2 separate regions of the Homo sapiens genome follow, and region 2 is linked to region 1. Evidence: promoter capture Hi-C in 16 types of primary human blood cells and fetal thymus (Javierre and others, 2016). All regions are on one chromosome and are shown on one strand. The core of a region is centred on a gene start or on the middle of the fragment in contact, and the rest is flanking DNA. Distances in the headings are between cores, read along the strand shown. Region 1 holds the start of SLC43A3 (solute carrier family 43 member 3). Region 2 overlaps LPXN (leupaxin).

What was found. The method cuts DNA at HindIII sites, captures the fragments that hold promoters and counts their contacts. A CHiCAGO score of 5 or more calls a contact.
Region 2: a contact is called between a fragment that was not itself captured here and the fragment with the promoter of SLC43A3 in region 1, in 3 of 17 cell types (activated CD4 T cells, total CD8 T cells and naive CD8 T cells). The highest score is 7.4, in activated CD4 T cells.

Annotation. Positions count from the first base shown.
Region 1 is chr11:57,424,983-57,432,288 of GRCh38, reverse strand. It overlaps SLC43A3 (solute carrier family 43 member 3), which reads left to right and starts at 5,168. Exons shown (of 14, transcript NM_199329.3): 1 at 5,168-5,227; 2 at 5,637-5,701; 3 at 5,937-6,300; 4 at 6,619-6,748. The coding sequence starts at 6,117. RefSeq lists a silencer at 5,049-5,408 and enhancers at 5,651-6,443, 5,552-6,751, 6,444-7,236. The HindIII fragment of the contact is 9,438 bases long and covers 2,037-7,306 here.
Region 2 is chr11:58,524,267-58,531,572 of GRCh38, reverse strand. It overlaps LPXN (leupaxin), which reads left to right. Exons shown (of 9, transcript NM_004811.3): 8 at 3,382-3,530; 9 at 3,850-4,702. The coding sequence ends at 4,119. Among named protein-coding and RNA genes, the nearest start is that of OR5B21, 20 kb to the right of the region's middle. RefSeq lists a silencer at 6,683-6,977. The HindIII fragment of the contact is 4,221 bases long and covers 734-4,954 here.

The DNA of each region.
Region 1 (7,306 bases), core at 3,919-6,418:
GGCAAAGCTCTCAATGTGAAAAACCCCGTTGTTTTCACTCAGGAGTCGTCTCCTTCTCCTGGATCCATTTCCTCTTTTCATGATCATGCGTGTGGGTGGGTGTGGTGTCTGTGTGAGCAGGGCAGGGAGACACAGAATCACAGAGAGGCAGCACTACTCTCTTGTTTTAATCAAGGGTGCTGTCTGAAAGAATTACCCATCTTCATTCCTATTAGTAATAACTGGTACCCCCATCAACCCGATTCCAGAACTCATGCTCTGTGTAGCTCTTGGGAAGCCTCCCAGGAAGGCTGGGTAGGGCACAGATTAAGAGCATCAGCTGGCTGGGCATGGTGGCTCACGCCTGTAATCCTAGCACTTTGTGGGGCCAAGGCAGGCAGAACACTTGAGCCCAGGAGTTTGAGACCAGTCTGGCCAACATGGCGAAACCCCATCTCTACAAAAAATGCAAAAAAATTAGCTGGGCATGGTGGTGCACGCCTGTAATCCCAGCTACTCGGGAGGCTGAGGCAGGAGAATCACTTGAACCTGGGAAGTGGAGGCTGCAGTGAACTGAGATCACACCATTTCACTCCAGCCTTGGTGACAGAGTGAGATGCTGTCTCAAAAAAAAAAAAAAAAAAAAAAAAAAAAGCATTAGTTTCAGTCAGAGCATCAGGTTTCTATCCCAGTCCTGACACTGCTACCTGGTGATGTTGGGGGAGTTGCTTCGTCCCTCTAGGCCTCAGTTGGCCCAGATAATAGATGCTAATAACAACACCTATCGTGAGATTCAGTGACAGATTAAGCAAAAAGCGCTTCGAATCAGATACATAGTCAGTGCTCAGTGCCCAGCAGGTATTATTGATATTCCTTATTTTTCTTCTCAGGGGTAGGACGTGCCTCCATGTTGACACAGTGTTCCCCAGCCTAGTCCTTAGAGTTGCAGGTTTAGATATTGTCAGTGCACTGAGGCATTCCTTTCTAGCAAAGTCTATCGGGAAGTGCAGTTACCAGTAAACAGTTGCTTGATGAACATAGAAGTGGAGCTGGGGCTTGGGAGGGTGGGTAGCAGTAGCCTCATAAGCCCTGGTGTGGTGGGGCTTGGGGCTCTGCTTTCTCTTAGGCCTGGCCCAGTGCTTCCAGTATCTGGTCTGGTGGGGGAGCTCTGTTTTCTGCATGGTGAAAGGGAGGCTGATCCAGGCTGATCCTCTGCTGCCTCTAGCATCCACTGAAGCTGAGCTGGCTGCTCTGAGGGGCCAGAGTGGCCCCCACCCTCCAGTGCCTCTTTGGGTATCCTTTCAGATTCACCTCTGTTAAAGAGAAAGGTCTCCCCAGAGCAAGGAGGCCTCATATTTACTTGGCTATGTAGTAGTTCCCCACCCTCCTGAGAACTGCTTTGAACACACTAGGAGATACCCTGAAGAGCCAGCTCTAAGACTCCATCCCCTTCCTGTCTACTGTGGCTCATGAACAGACTTCCCACAGCTTACAGGACAATCCAAGCCCCTGCCTTAAGCCCAGACAGTCTTGGGGGGTTGTACTGAGTGCATTTGGGTGTCATCTAGAGATCAGTTCTCTAGGGTGGGACTTCTTAAGCAAGGTAAACTGAGCTCACCCATTACTTAGTGGTTTTCCCCCTAATTTATTTCTTTTTTAGGTTAGGAACACTTTGAAATTCTCCCTAAATGTGACTTTATTTCCTCTTTGTTTTCCAGTAAGTCAATAATATTTGTTAACAACAGTAGCTGCTATTTATTAATAGTGTACTAATTGGGCAGTTTTCATACATTATCTTTAATCCATACAGCTCGATTCCAATTTTATAGATGAGGAGACGGAAGCTCAGAGATACCAGTAATTGGCTCGATAGCAGTGTGCTTGTATTATTTTTGGCACTGCCTCAAGAGGATTAGAATTTTCTCTGCAGGTGAAATGATGTTTGCATTTACCTTTTGCTTTCTGACTTCCAAAACAGGCTGTAGAAACCCCTTTCAAGACCGTAGGTGGAAAACCAAACATTTTAATTTACATGAGCCCATTGTGAAAGGAAAGCTTATGTTTGTTTGTTTATGTGTTTGGCGTATCCGAAATCAAAGCCCTTTATGTGAATGGCTCAGAGTTTATCTACATATACAAATTTAGAAAGTGATGTCAGAGGGTAGGAGAGAATATCTGGACTCTGCCCAGAGAGTGGCAATTGCCCTCGCTGAGGTTGTTCAGAGGAAGTTTGAGGAGAGAGGTCTGTGGACAGGCAGGGACTGCATTGGAAGGTGGTGCTCTTGAGGACTAGAGGATACTAGCCATTGTTTGTGCCAGGGGAATGATGGAGTGCAGCTCACTTATACTGCCCTCTTTGGCAAACCCTCTTTCCCTAACCTAAACATATCCATCTTCCCACTCTGTCCATAAAAACATCCATAGGGTGGATCCTGGATATCCAGACTTGCTGATGATGGGAAGGAAAACCACCTCCAGCATTGGTACTTGGGCAGTAGGATGCAGGAGATCCAGTTCTATGCTCCCTCTTCCCCTCAAAGCAATGTCTCATGGCTGGCATCCCCAGACCCTGGACTGGTCCTTACCAGCCAGTTGACTGGACCTCAGAAGGGTTTTGAGCAGTTAAGTGAAGCCATCCAGTGGGAACCATGGAAATAAACTCTTGCAGGAGAATGGCGATGGCTTGGAAGCAGATGATGCCTCTGTGAGAGATGATGAGTGTCTGCATAGAGCAGTGGCCACGGATAGATAGGAGAGATATTAAGGGGTGAAATCAATAGGACATGATTGATTGATGTGGGCTGAATTCTTAATGCCCTCACTTAGATGGCGACGCTGGCCTCAAATCTTTCCACTTTCTTCACCACCCTGTGCTCTAGCTGGTTCCTAAATGTTATTGTTTTGTTGAGGTTCCGTGCCTTTCAATGTGCTGTGCTAGCATCTGCCTGGAAGACCATTCCCACACTCCAGAAATCTTGGGTTTCTTTGTCTGTCTCTCCCACAAGAGAATGAGCCCCTTGAGAGCAGGCACTGAATCTCTTCTCTACGAATCCCGGCACTTGGCACAGAGCCTGAGGTACCACATGTATTTGTTGAACCAATCAGTCAATTAAAAAAAAAAAGGTGTGAGATGATGAGGAAGGAGGCGAAGAGAAAAGGATGAAGACATCGGGTGCACCGTCAGACCTTATTATAATCACTTCTCTCTCTGATGTTACTCATTAATCCTCATTGGAGCCACGCAGGAGAGTGATCAGAATAGCATCTGCCTTTTCTAGCTGCTGGAATTCGAACCAAAGAACATGGGAATGGTTCAGAGGATATTCTAATTTCCTGTCCCATCAGTTCAGTAAGACTTGTGTTAGTGGAGGCCACGTCTTCTGCAGACATTGATGGGAGATGTGGAGTGGAGGCTCTAAGAGTCAAGAGAGGTAACAAGATAAGGTGGACAGAACCCTGGACGACCTGCCCCGTGTCCCGTGCTTCAGTCCTGGATGTACAGATAGCCCATGAGCTAGATCTTTCTGGCAGGCTCCTGCAGATTAACATTCTAAAATCTGTCTCTTTACTTTGACTTTTTTCTGTTTCTCCCTTGCTACTTCCACACTTACTGATCCCCCCAGGAGACTAAAATGTATGCCAGAGCAGAAGATAGGGCATGCATTAATTTCAGAGTCTTTGTGTCTTGCAGTAAAATAGAAAATCTTGCATCTTAAGCCCTGTTTGTCCTGGGATGCTATATTTTTGTGGATTTTCTCCCATAAATAATGTTATTTTAAGAAAAGACTTGTTTTCTCTAATGTCCAAATGTTTGTTAAGACGGGGTGATGAGAGCATACGTTTCAGAGTTGGGAAGGTACTGCAGCTTTGTAGAATGACCGTGGGCAAGTTCCTTTGAAATTCCTCCCCAGAGCTGCTTCTCTGGCTCTGTCTACATAACTGCAGACTAGAAAATCTACTACCCTACAATCTGCCTATAGCACCTGCGCCATGCAGGGACCTCATACACCCATCTTATACTTCTTTTATGACAATTCCTATAATTAAGGTACTATTGTCCTCGTCTTACAGGTGGGGCAGCCAAAGAGCTTGCCTCAGGTTGTATAACTAGTGAGTAGCTTGGGGTACAGGACCCCAGCCACCCTTCCTCCATTCAGTCAAGTCACTAGGGTGGTTGCAGACTTTTATCTTTTGTGCTTTGGTGGTGAGCTGGAAAATCCTCAGTTCTGGCTGTCCCCTATCGTAACCTCTATTTCTTCCTCTTAAAAAAAAGAGGAGTGGGCTTGGAATAGCTGGAGTTCCTGGGCCCTCAGGGGATCCAGGTAGCTGGGGTTGGGAGTCTGCAGACTGCATCTAATACGCAAGAAGCTCTCCCCAAACTGAGCTTTTGGCAAGGAAACGGCCACACAGGCCAAAGAAGACGTCAGCTCACGTGCTCTGGGCTGGAAGGATAGTAAGGCAGCTGCTTAGTAAGGCCTCACGCTGATCACAAGCTCCGATGAGCAATTATATATGTCTTTGATTAATAAAAAATGGGGCAATGAATGGTTAATCAATGCAGTCTGGCGGGAAGGCTCTTTCAGAACCTGGGGGGCGGGGGTGAGGCAGGGAGTCATCTAAGGGGTTTTTGGGAGTGAAAATATGGGGCAGTCCTCCAGGGGATGGTTTCTGAAAAGCCCTCAGTCCTGGTTCTTGGCTTCCTGATTCTGTGGTTGGGATTTTTTTGGCAGCTCTGGGAGTGTGAAACTGGGAGAGACGGTTAAGCTGGTGAGCAAATAGGAAAAATATGTTCCCTGCCAACCCAGCGGTCAAGGCAAAATGCACAAATAGAGTGTGTGTGTCCCTATGCCCTCATGTGCTGTCTGTGTGTCCTCTGGGTGCTGGGTGTGACATTTTCCCTAGGTGGGCCTGAGCGAGTAACAGCATTCAACTAACTTGGTTAGGGGAGGCAGAGGCAAGGGGGCTGGGAGGCTGAAAGGCAGCGAGGAGGGAGGGAAAGACACCGCTGGGGTTCTAGGGGGTTCTAGAGGGAGAAGTTTCAAGAGGGAGAGGTAAAAAGGGCGCGGGAGGCTGTGAGCAAGGGAAAAGAAGAAGGAAGTGATGGAGAGTGGGAGGTCTGCCCCAGCCCCTTCCGGGCGGGCAGGAGGGGGCGGAGGCGAGCAGGGGACTGGGAGGGGCTGCGAGAGGCGCGAATGCGAACCTGGCCCGTGCGGAAAGGGCGCGGAGAGCCCCGGCGCGGAGCAGGCGGGTAGGGCGAAGGGTCCCCTTTCGGGCGCCATGGGGCGCCGAGCGCGGCCTGGCCCCTCGGGCTCCTCTGCGGGGAGGGCAGGCCGCAGGCTGGAGCGGGGTGCGGAGGCTGGCGGGGAGCGGCCCCCGGAGGCTTTCCTGGTAGAAGTTGATGCGAGGAAGGGCGGCGGGGACCAGGTTTGCGAGTCCTAGGCGAGGGTCATGGGAGTTGGGGGTATTTCTGGCAGTAGAATGGCCTGCGTCGTGACTAAACTAGCCCTGTGACCTTGGGCAAGTTCCTGAAATCCATGGGAGCTTTTGTTTCATTGTCAGTAAACTGAAGATAACACCAACTTGGCAGCGGGAGTTTGTGTCTTCTGTATGAAATCTCCCTGCCTCTGCACCTGGTTGAGTTGCTGTCATTATTTTAGGGGACGGTATTCAGAATTCGAGCGCAGGAGCTCCGCTTCTCCACCTGCTCCCGGGGAGCTATTGGGTAAGTCGTTTATCTCACCTGTGACTCCAGGTGGCCATCAAGACCTGCCTCTCTACTTGCCACGTGGTTACTCAAATGCAGTGCCTAAGATGATGTATTGGAGTATTTATTCCCCACATTTGCTGCCAGCGGCCATGATCATCCTGCCTCTTAATGCACCTCACAAATAACTCTAGTCTACCTTTCCCTTTCCCGCAGGCCTCCTCTTCCAGCAGCCTCTATCTTTATTCTACAGGATCCAGAGAATCACCCGCTGATGGTTTTTGCCCAGGCCTGAAACAACCAGAGAGCTACGGGAAAGGAAGGGCTTGGCTTGCCAGAGGAATTTTCCAAGTGCTCAAACGCCAGGCTTACGGCGCCTGTGATCCGTCCAGGAGGACAAAGTGGGATTTGAAGATCCACTCCACTTCTGCTCATGGCGGGCCAGGGCCTGCCCCTGCACGTGGCCACACTGCTGACTGGGCTGCTGGAATGCCTGGGCTTTGCTGGCGTCCTCTTTGGCTGGCCTTCACTAGTGTTTGTCTTCAAGAATGAAGATTACTTTAAGGATCTGTGTGGACCAGATGCTGGGCCGATTGGCAATGCCACAGGGCAGGCTGGTAAGGGCAGGGATGACTTTTCTAAGGAAGTTAAGTCTGGCTCCCACGTGGTGGCAAGGAGCAGGAAGGACTCTGCCCCCTGCCCACCCCTCTTTCTATGATGAGAGGAAGGGTCAGCAGCTCTCACCCCACTTGATCTGGGAAGTGCCTGGGAGGGAGGCACCAGCTCCTGAGGGGTAATTAGGGGCAGCCACATTTCAACTCAGCTTAAGGGACAAGTTTGCGACCGACAAGCTGTCTGAGGTGGAGGGGAGCCCAGCCTGTGTGCTCATTTGGCAGGAAGGCTGGGATGCATGGGAGACCTTTTTTCTACTCCAGACTGCAAAGCCCAGGATGAGAGGTTCTCACTCATCTTCACCCTGGGGTCCTTCATGAACAACTTCATGACATTCCCCACTGGCTACATCTTTGACCGGTTCAAGACCACCGTGGCACGCCTCATAGCCATGTAAGTCCCAAAGGCCAGCCCAGGCAAAGGTGGGTAAGAGGAATCCTTCAGGCAGCAGCCTAGCTTGGAGTGAAATCCAGAGTCAGACAGCCCGGCCACCCTGCCAGGCACCACACCTGCAGCTCGCTCCCAGCAGCTGTTAGGAACAGCCCCAGGCAGCGGGACTCTCTCTAGACTTGCCCACTTCACCACAGCCCCACTTCCATTTCCTTACCTCGTTCCCTGCTCTGCATAAATGTGGCTTCCCTATCACGTGCTGAATTGAGCCGGAGGCCAGGGTGACTTCCTGTAAGGGCTGGCTTGGAGCCAGGGTTACAAAATTAGCAAAACCTAAAATTGCTCTTCTCTTCCTTCACCCCAAGGATCCTTGTCCTCATCCCCTGCACAGCCTCACATCCAGGTTGCCCAGGCTTCATCCTCATCCTCCTCACCGCCCCCCCTCCCCGCCCCAACAGCCAATCACTCCCTAGGGGCTTAGCTAATAGGAAGTTTCTTTGGTATTGCCACTGGTGGAATTTCAGGTCCCTTCTGACTGGAGGGGAGACTGGGGGGGTTTCC
Region 2 (7,306 bases), core at 1,595-4,094, 1.1 Mb before region 1:
GATTTGTTTTTTTCACATAGTCCCATATTTCTTGGAGGCTTTATTCATTCCTTTTCATTCTTTTTTCTCTAATCTTGTCCTCTTGCTTTATTTCATTAAGTTGACCTTCAATCTCTTATATCCTTTCTTCTGCTTGATCAATTCAGCTATTGATACTTGTGTATGCTTCACAAAGTTCTTGTGCTATATTTTTCAGCTCCATCAGGTCATGTATGTTCTTCTCTAAACTGGTTATTCTAGTTAGCAATTTGTCTAACCTGTTTTCAAGGTTCTTAGCTTCCTTGCATTGGGTTAGAACATGCTCCTTTATAAAGCTCGGAGGAGTTTGTTATTACCCACCTTCTGAAGCCTACTTCTATCAGTTCGTCAGACTCATTCTTCATCCAGTTTTGTTCCCTTGGTGTTGAGGAGTTGTGATCCTTTGGAGAAGAGGCATTCTGGTTTTTGGGATTTTCACCCTTTTTGCATTGGTTTCTCCCCATCTTCTTGAGTGTTTCTACGTTTGGTCTTTGAAGTTGGTGACCTTCAGATGGAGTGTCTGAGTGGATGTCCTTTCTGTTGATGTTGATGCTATTCCTTTCTGTTTGTTAGTTTTCCTTCTAACAGTCAGGCTCCTCTGCTACAAGTCCACGGGAGTTTGCTGGAGGTCGACTCCAGACCCTGTTTGCCTGGGTATTAGCAGCAGAGGCTGCAGAACAGCAAAGATTGCTGCCTGTTCCTTCCTTTGGAAGCTTCATCCCAGCAGGGCACCCACCAGATGCCAGCCAGAGCTCTCCTGTATGAGGTGTCAGTTAGCCCCTATTGGGAGGTGTCTCCCAATCAGGAGACACGGGGGCCACAGACCCACTCAAGGAGGCAGTCTGACCCTTAGCAGAGCTCGAACCCTGTGCTGGGAGATCCACTGCTCTCTTCAGAGCTGTCAGGCAGGGATGTTTAAGTCTACTGAAGCTGTGCCCACAGCCACCCCTTCCCCTGGGTGCTCTGTCCCAGGGAGATGGGGGTTTTATCTATAAGCCCCTGACTGGAGCTGCTGCCTTTTTCTTTTCAGAGATGGCCTGCCCAGAAAAGAGGAATCTAGAGAGGCAGTCTAGCCACAGCAGCCTTGCTGAGCTGCGGTTGGCTCCACCCAGTTTGATCTTCTGAGTGGCTTTGTTTACACTGTGAAGGTAAAACCACCTGCTCAAGCCTCAGCAATGGTGGATGCTTCTCCCTCCACCAAATTCTAGTATCCCAGGTCGAGCTCAGACTGCTGTGCTGGCAGTAAGAATTTCAAGCCAGTGGATCTTAGCTTGCTGGGCTCCATGGGGGTGGGACCTACCGAGCCAGGCCACTTGGCTCCCTGGCTTAAGCCCCCTTTCCAGGGGAGTGAACAGTTCTGTCTCGCTGGCATTCCAGGTGCATCTAGGTTATGAAAAACAAAAAACAAAAAAACTTCTAAAGCTAGCTCAGTGTTTGCCCATACAGCCGCCCAGTTTTGTGCTTGAAACCCAGGGCCCTGGTGGCGTAGGCACAAGAGGGAATCTCCAGGTCTGCGGTTTGTGAAGACTATGGGAAAAGCACAGTATCTGGGCCGGAGTGCACTGTTCCTCACGGCACAGTTTCTAATGGCTTCTCTTTGTTAGGAGAGGGAGTTCCCTGACCCCTTGTGCTTTCTGGGTGAGGCAACACCCCACCCTTTTTCGGCTTGCCCTCAATGGGCTGCACCCACTGTCCGATCAGTCTCAATGAGATGAACCGGTTACCTCAGTTGGAAATGCAGAAATCACCTGCCTTCTGCATCGATCTCACTGGAAGCTGCAGACCTGAGCTGTTCCTATTCGGTCATCCTGCCAGCAATCTCCAAATTATTTATTTTATTGCTCATGTCATCAGTTTGATATACAGTTAATTTTCTTCAATTTGATTCAATTTTTTAGGGATTCATGTTTTTCCATTTTAATTTTTTTACTTTTTTTTTTTTTTTTTGAGACAGAGTCTCACTATCTCCCAGGCTGGAGTGCAGTGGTGCGATCTCGGCTCACTGCAAGCTCTGCCTCCCGGGTTTACGCCATTCTCCTGCCTCAGCCTCCCAAGTAGCTGGGACTACAGGCGCTCGCCACCACACCTGGCTAATTTTTTGTATTTTTAGTAGAGACGGGGTTTCACCGTGTTAGCCAGGATGGTCTCGATCTCCTGACCTCGTGATCCACCCGCCTCGGCCTCCCAAAGTGCTGGGATTACAGGTGCAAGCCACCGTGCCCGGCCAATTTTTTCACTTTTTAATTATGTACAACAATAGTTGAAACCATACATATACTCAGGAGTGGAATATAATTAGCAAATATTTTCTTCAGATTGTTATTTGTCTTTGTTTATGGTGATTTTTTGACATGTGTAAGTCATTCAGATATATTTTTATGTAGCTAAATTTATTAATATTTAACTTGCTTTTGGAATTTGGGCTTTATTTATGACAGTTTTTCTGTTTCCAGATTAAAGAGGAATACATCATTAATGACAAGATATGAAATGCAAATGCACACATTAAAAAAACCCTAAGTATCATTAGCCTTTCGGGAAATACAAATCAAAACTACCATGAGATAACATTGTATAGATAGATAACATCCATTTGATTGATTAAAAAGGAAATATATGGATATATCAAGTGATGTAAAGACTGAGGAATAATTGGGATTTTCATACACTGCTGGTAAACAATAAAAATAATATACCCACACAAAAAATAAAAAAAGGAGGAATACATCTATTTTTAATTCAAATATATGGTATGAGTCATTGTGTTTAGATCTTGCATCCATCTGGAAATTATTATTTAGTAGTATTTTATTTTAAAATATCAGATGCTTTTTTTCTTCCCAGATGCTGTTTTAGATATTAGAGATATAATGGTGACAAGATCAACAATATCTAGTTTCTCTCAGAGCTAATGTTCCTGTAAGGGGAGACAGCCCACAAAGATGATTTTAAATAAAGGTAAATGCCATAAAGACGGTGAAAGAAGATGATGTGACAAGGAGGGACTGAAGAGATGCCTCTCTGATAAGATGATATTTGAGTGATTCTTGCATCACATGAAGAGGACAACTATATCAGGCTCTGGGACAGAACTATCCAAGCCAAGGGAATACTTAGTACAAAGGCACTGAGGAGCAATAGCCCCTAACACTTATTAAATGTTTACTATGAACCAGACACAATGCCAAAACACTTCCTCTGCATTATCTCATTTATTTCTTACAACTACCCTTTGAATTAGGTAACAGTAATCATCCTATTTTGAATATGAGGACACTGAGATTGAAAGGGCCTCCTCTCAGTCTCCAGTGTAGCTTTCAGGGCTCAACCTGCAACAGTGAATTCCTGATTTTATCTCTCCAGGCTTTCATGAGAAGGACAAGAAGCCATATTGCCGAAAGGATTTCTTAGCCATGTTCTCACCCAAGTGTGGTGGCTGCAATCGCCCAGTGTTGGAAAACTACCTTTCAGCCATGGACACTGTCTGGCACCCAGAGTGCTTTGTTTGTGGGGTCTGTATAATCACTTTTCTTTCGGACTTAGGGAAAGTCAAGGGTTCTCCTCTCTGAGAGGAAGAGCTGCAGTTAGTGAAAGGGTTCACAGTCCTGAATGAGGAATGGATGTGCGCATCCTAAAGGAGAAACGAGATACAGATCCATTTGCTTGTCTGTTTTGCAAGCGGGAAATCTAGTCTCCATTTGTCAAGAACCTGAGGGAAATTCCTGTAGCTGGCAGGTAACTGTCAGGAATTTCAAGGCTGAAAATTTTACTTTGCTGACATTTTACCTCTTGACATTTGCATTCTTTTTCTCTCTCTTCTCTCTACCCCAGGACTGCTTCACCAGTTTTTCTACTGGCTCCTTCTTTGAACTGGATGGACGTCCATTCTGTGAGCTCCATTACCATCACCGCCGGGGAACGCTCTGCCATGGGTGTGGGCAGCCCATCACTGGCCGTTGTATCAGTGCCATGGGGTACAAGTTCCATCCTGAGCACTTTGTGTGTGCTTTCTGCCTGACACAGTTGTCGAAGGGCATTTTCAGGGAGCAGAATGACAAGACCTATTGTCAACCTTGCTTCAATAAGCTCTTCCCACTGTAATGCCAACTGATCCATAGCCTCTTCAGATTCCTTATAAAATTTAAACCAAGAGAGGAGAGGAAAGGGTAAATTTTCTGTTACTGACCTTCTGCTTAATAGTCTTATAGAAAAAGGAAAGGTGATGAGCAAATAAAGGAACTTCTAGACTTTACATGACTAGGCTGATAATCTTATTTTTTAGGCTTCTATACAGTTAATTCTATAAATTCTCTTTCTCCCTCTCTTCTCCAATCAAGCACTTGGAGTTAGATCTAGGTCCTTCTATCTCGTCCCTCTACAGATGTATTTTCCACTTGCATAATTCATGCCAACACTGGTTTTCTTAGGTTTCTCCATTTTCACCTCTAGTGATGGCCCTACTCATATCTTCTCTAATTTGGTCCTGATACTTGTTTCTTTTCACGTTTTCCCATTTCCCTGTGGCTCACTGTCTTACAATCACTGCTGTGGAATCATGATACCACTTTTAGCTCTTTGCATCTTCCTTCAGTGTATTTTTGTTTTTCAAGAGGAAGTAGATTTTAACTGGACAACTTTGAGTACTGACATCATTGATAAATAAACTGGCTTGTGGTTTCAATAACTCATTGTCATATTTGTTTGGGAGATAAACTTTCTGCTTCCCGTGTTATATACTAGGCACTATGTACAATTAAGATTATATCATACCTCGTTTCCTTCCATCCAATGCACACTTTAAAATTTTTAATCAGAAGAAATTAAAAGGAGGGTCTCCTTTTCACTAATTTTTCTTTTTTTTCTTTTTAGTTTGGTCCCATAACCATTTTATTTTCTAGACTTAGATGATTGAATCATTTTTAAAAATGACAAAGCTTCTTAAAATTGTTTTTATTACTTTGTTTACAGGAGGAGAAACCCTGGCTCTCCATTAGAAACCTTACAAATTCATTTCTTTTTCCTTTTTTTTTTTTTCTGAGATGGAGTTTCGCTCTTGTTGCCCAGGTTGGAGTGGAATGGCGCGATCTCGGCTGACCGCAACCTCCACCTCCTGGGTTCAAGCAATTCTCCTGCCTCAGCCTCCTGAGTAGCTGGAATTACAGGCATGCGCCACCACACCAGGCTAATTTTTCTATTTTTAGTAGAGATGGGGTTTCTCCACGTTGGTCAGGCTGGTCTCAAACTCCCGACCTCAGGTGATCCACCCACCTCGACCTCCCAAAGTGTTGGGATTACAGGCGTGAGCCACTGCGCCCAGCCACAAATTCATTTCTAAAGTAAAAAATGAAACACAATTTCACATTTGCCTCCTGAAGACAAATGAGATGGCTGTTCTTAGAGCATCTCTGAAGAAAGATGCTATAAATAAAGCTCAAATGATTATTATCTAGAATTAGGAAAGCCAAGACTCAAAGAAAAATTCCTCTTAATCATTTGTTCATCTCAAAATATTATAAGTAAATGTTTAGAAAAGCTTGTCAGGTTATCAGAGAATCTGATTTTCTTATGTCCTGTCAGTTTACTGTCCTACAGTTTACTTTTTATAAAAGTAAGCTTCACAAGGACTAATCTTTCTGCAAAAGGGATATTGAGAAGATCAGTACAATATCTTTCTTCCCGTGGTCTTAAAAATAATTGTGTGATTATTTGTTATAACAAAAACCAGACTCTTAGAATCCTTGATTCTGAGATAAGTTACTGGCGAAAACTCCTTCACTGGAGGTATTTTTAAAAATAGGACAAAATTTGATGTCTTTAGATTGATAGAGGAATAGTACTACTTGGGAGAGCTGAAATGGATTAAATGTTTCTTGCCAAACTTTATTATATCTATGTCCTTTGTTGGAATGGATAATAAGGGGGTTGTGAGAGTTACAAGGAATTGGCAACAGTTAATTCTATAAAATAGGAACTCCAAATGCATGTAAGATATGTGGGAGGCCACACAGATACGGAACCATCTGGCCTCTATCCTGTTTGGCTGTCTGAGAGCGCCAGACTATGCAGAACACACATTCAACTTTTAAACATCCTCTTTGCAATGTCTTCACTCAACGATGTCACACGCAGGTGTTAATATGGCAATGTTCTTGGTTGCCTTGGCAATTTGACAAAATAAACTTGGAGTTTTAGCCCTTAAAAAGAAATGTACAGGTGCTAAAACTTTTTTAAAAAGGATTAGCTATTTTGAGATTCAATAGAATTTAACTATTTTTAAATGTCAAAGAAAATCCAGAGTTCACTAAGATGTAATTAAGAAGTGAAAACACTTTCTTCCCACATTGAACGGAAGTGGTTTTATTTGCTCAAAAAGAGATACTGACTTCAGGACCAGTGTTTTAGCAATAAGGAAACTACTCACAAGTAAAAAGTTCTGCTTTTTAAAAACCCTGGAAATGCCATTACTAAAATTGATCACGTACTTATTTACTTTTGGTTTTGAGTAACTTCTAGGATGTTTAAAAAATAAAACCCACCCTCACAGGACAGGGATTTTCCACCAGTGAATATAAACATATAGAAAGGAATATGCTCTAGAGTTGGCACTGTATTCTCAAAGGGGAGTCCCTCAATTAGTTTGGTCAGTTTTTCTTTGAAGTAAATTTAGTCTCTTCCAAGGTAATACTTTGATAAAGACAACAATTATTTTTCCATCCAAGTTCTATCACACACTCTTCTTGGAGTTGTAGGATGGCTGCCAGCGCATGCTTCTTGTTTCATAACCAGTAGGGGGAGCAAGAGTGCTTTTATCGAGCATTTGCAAGCAAAAGTTCTGGGATTCATCCTCACTGGTCTAGCCTAGGTCACATACCAGTAATTTTTGCTGGGGGAATGGATTCTGCAGCTTGGCTTAAACCAAACTGAATTATTTCCAAAGTTACAAGCAGGACTAAGTTTCCCGAAAGCACAAGGGCTTTGTGGAGGAGATGTGAATACTTTAAAAGCTGGATATTGGTAAGAAGCGGGAAGAGGACAATGAATCTTGAATTCGTGTGTTCAAAAGTGAAAATATTGGAGTTTCTGAGTTTCAAGGTAATGTAGAAGGTAAGCAAGCAGGCATTGTCAGTATCCTGAGGGATCATGTCCAAGAACTTTACAGAACCCAAAGGCAGAGGAGAGAGCCAGGAATGCTGGTGTCCTGAGGAACATGCGGCAGTGGCACTGCTCTTCCTGGGCCCCTAGGGGCGCACCACTGAGAAGCATCAAAAGCACCTTCAGTTTGGCAGTC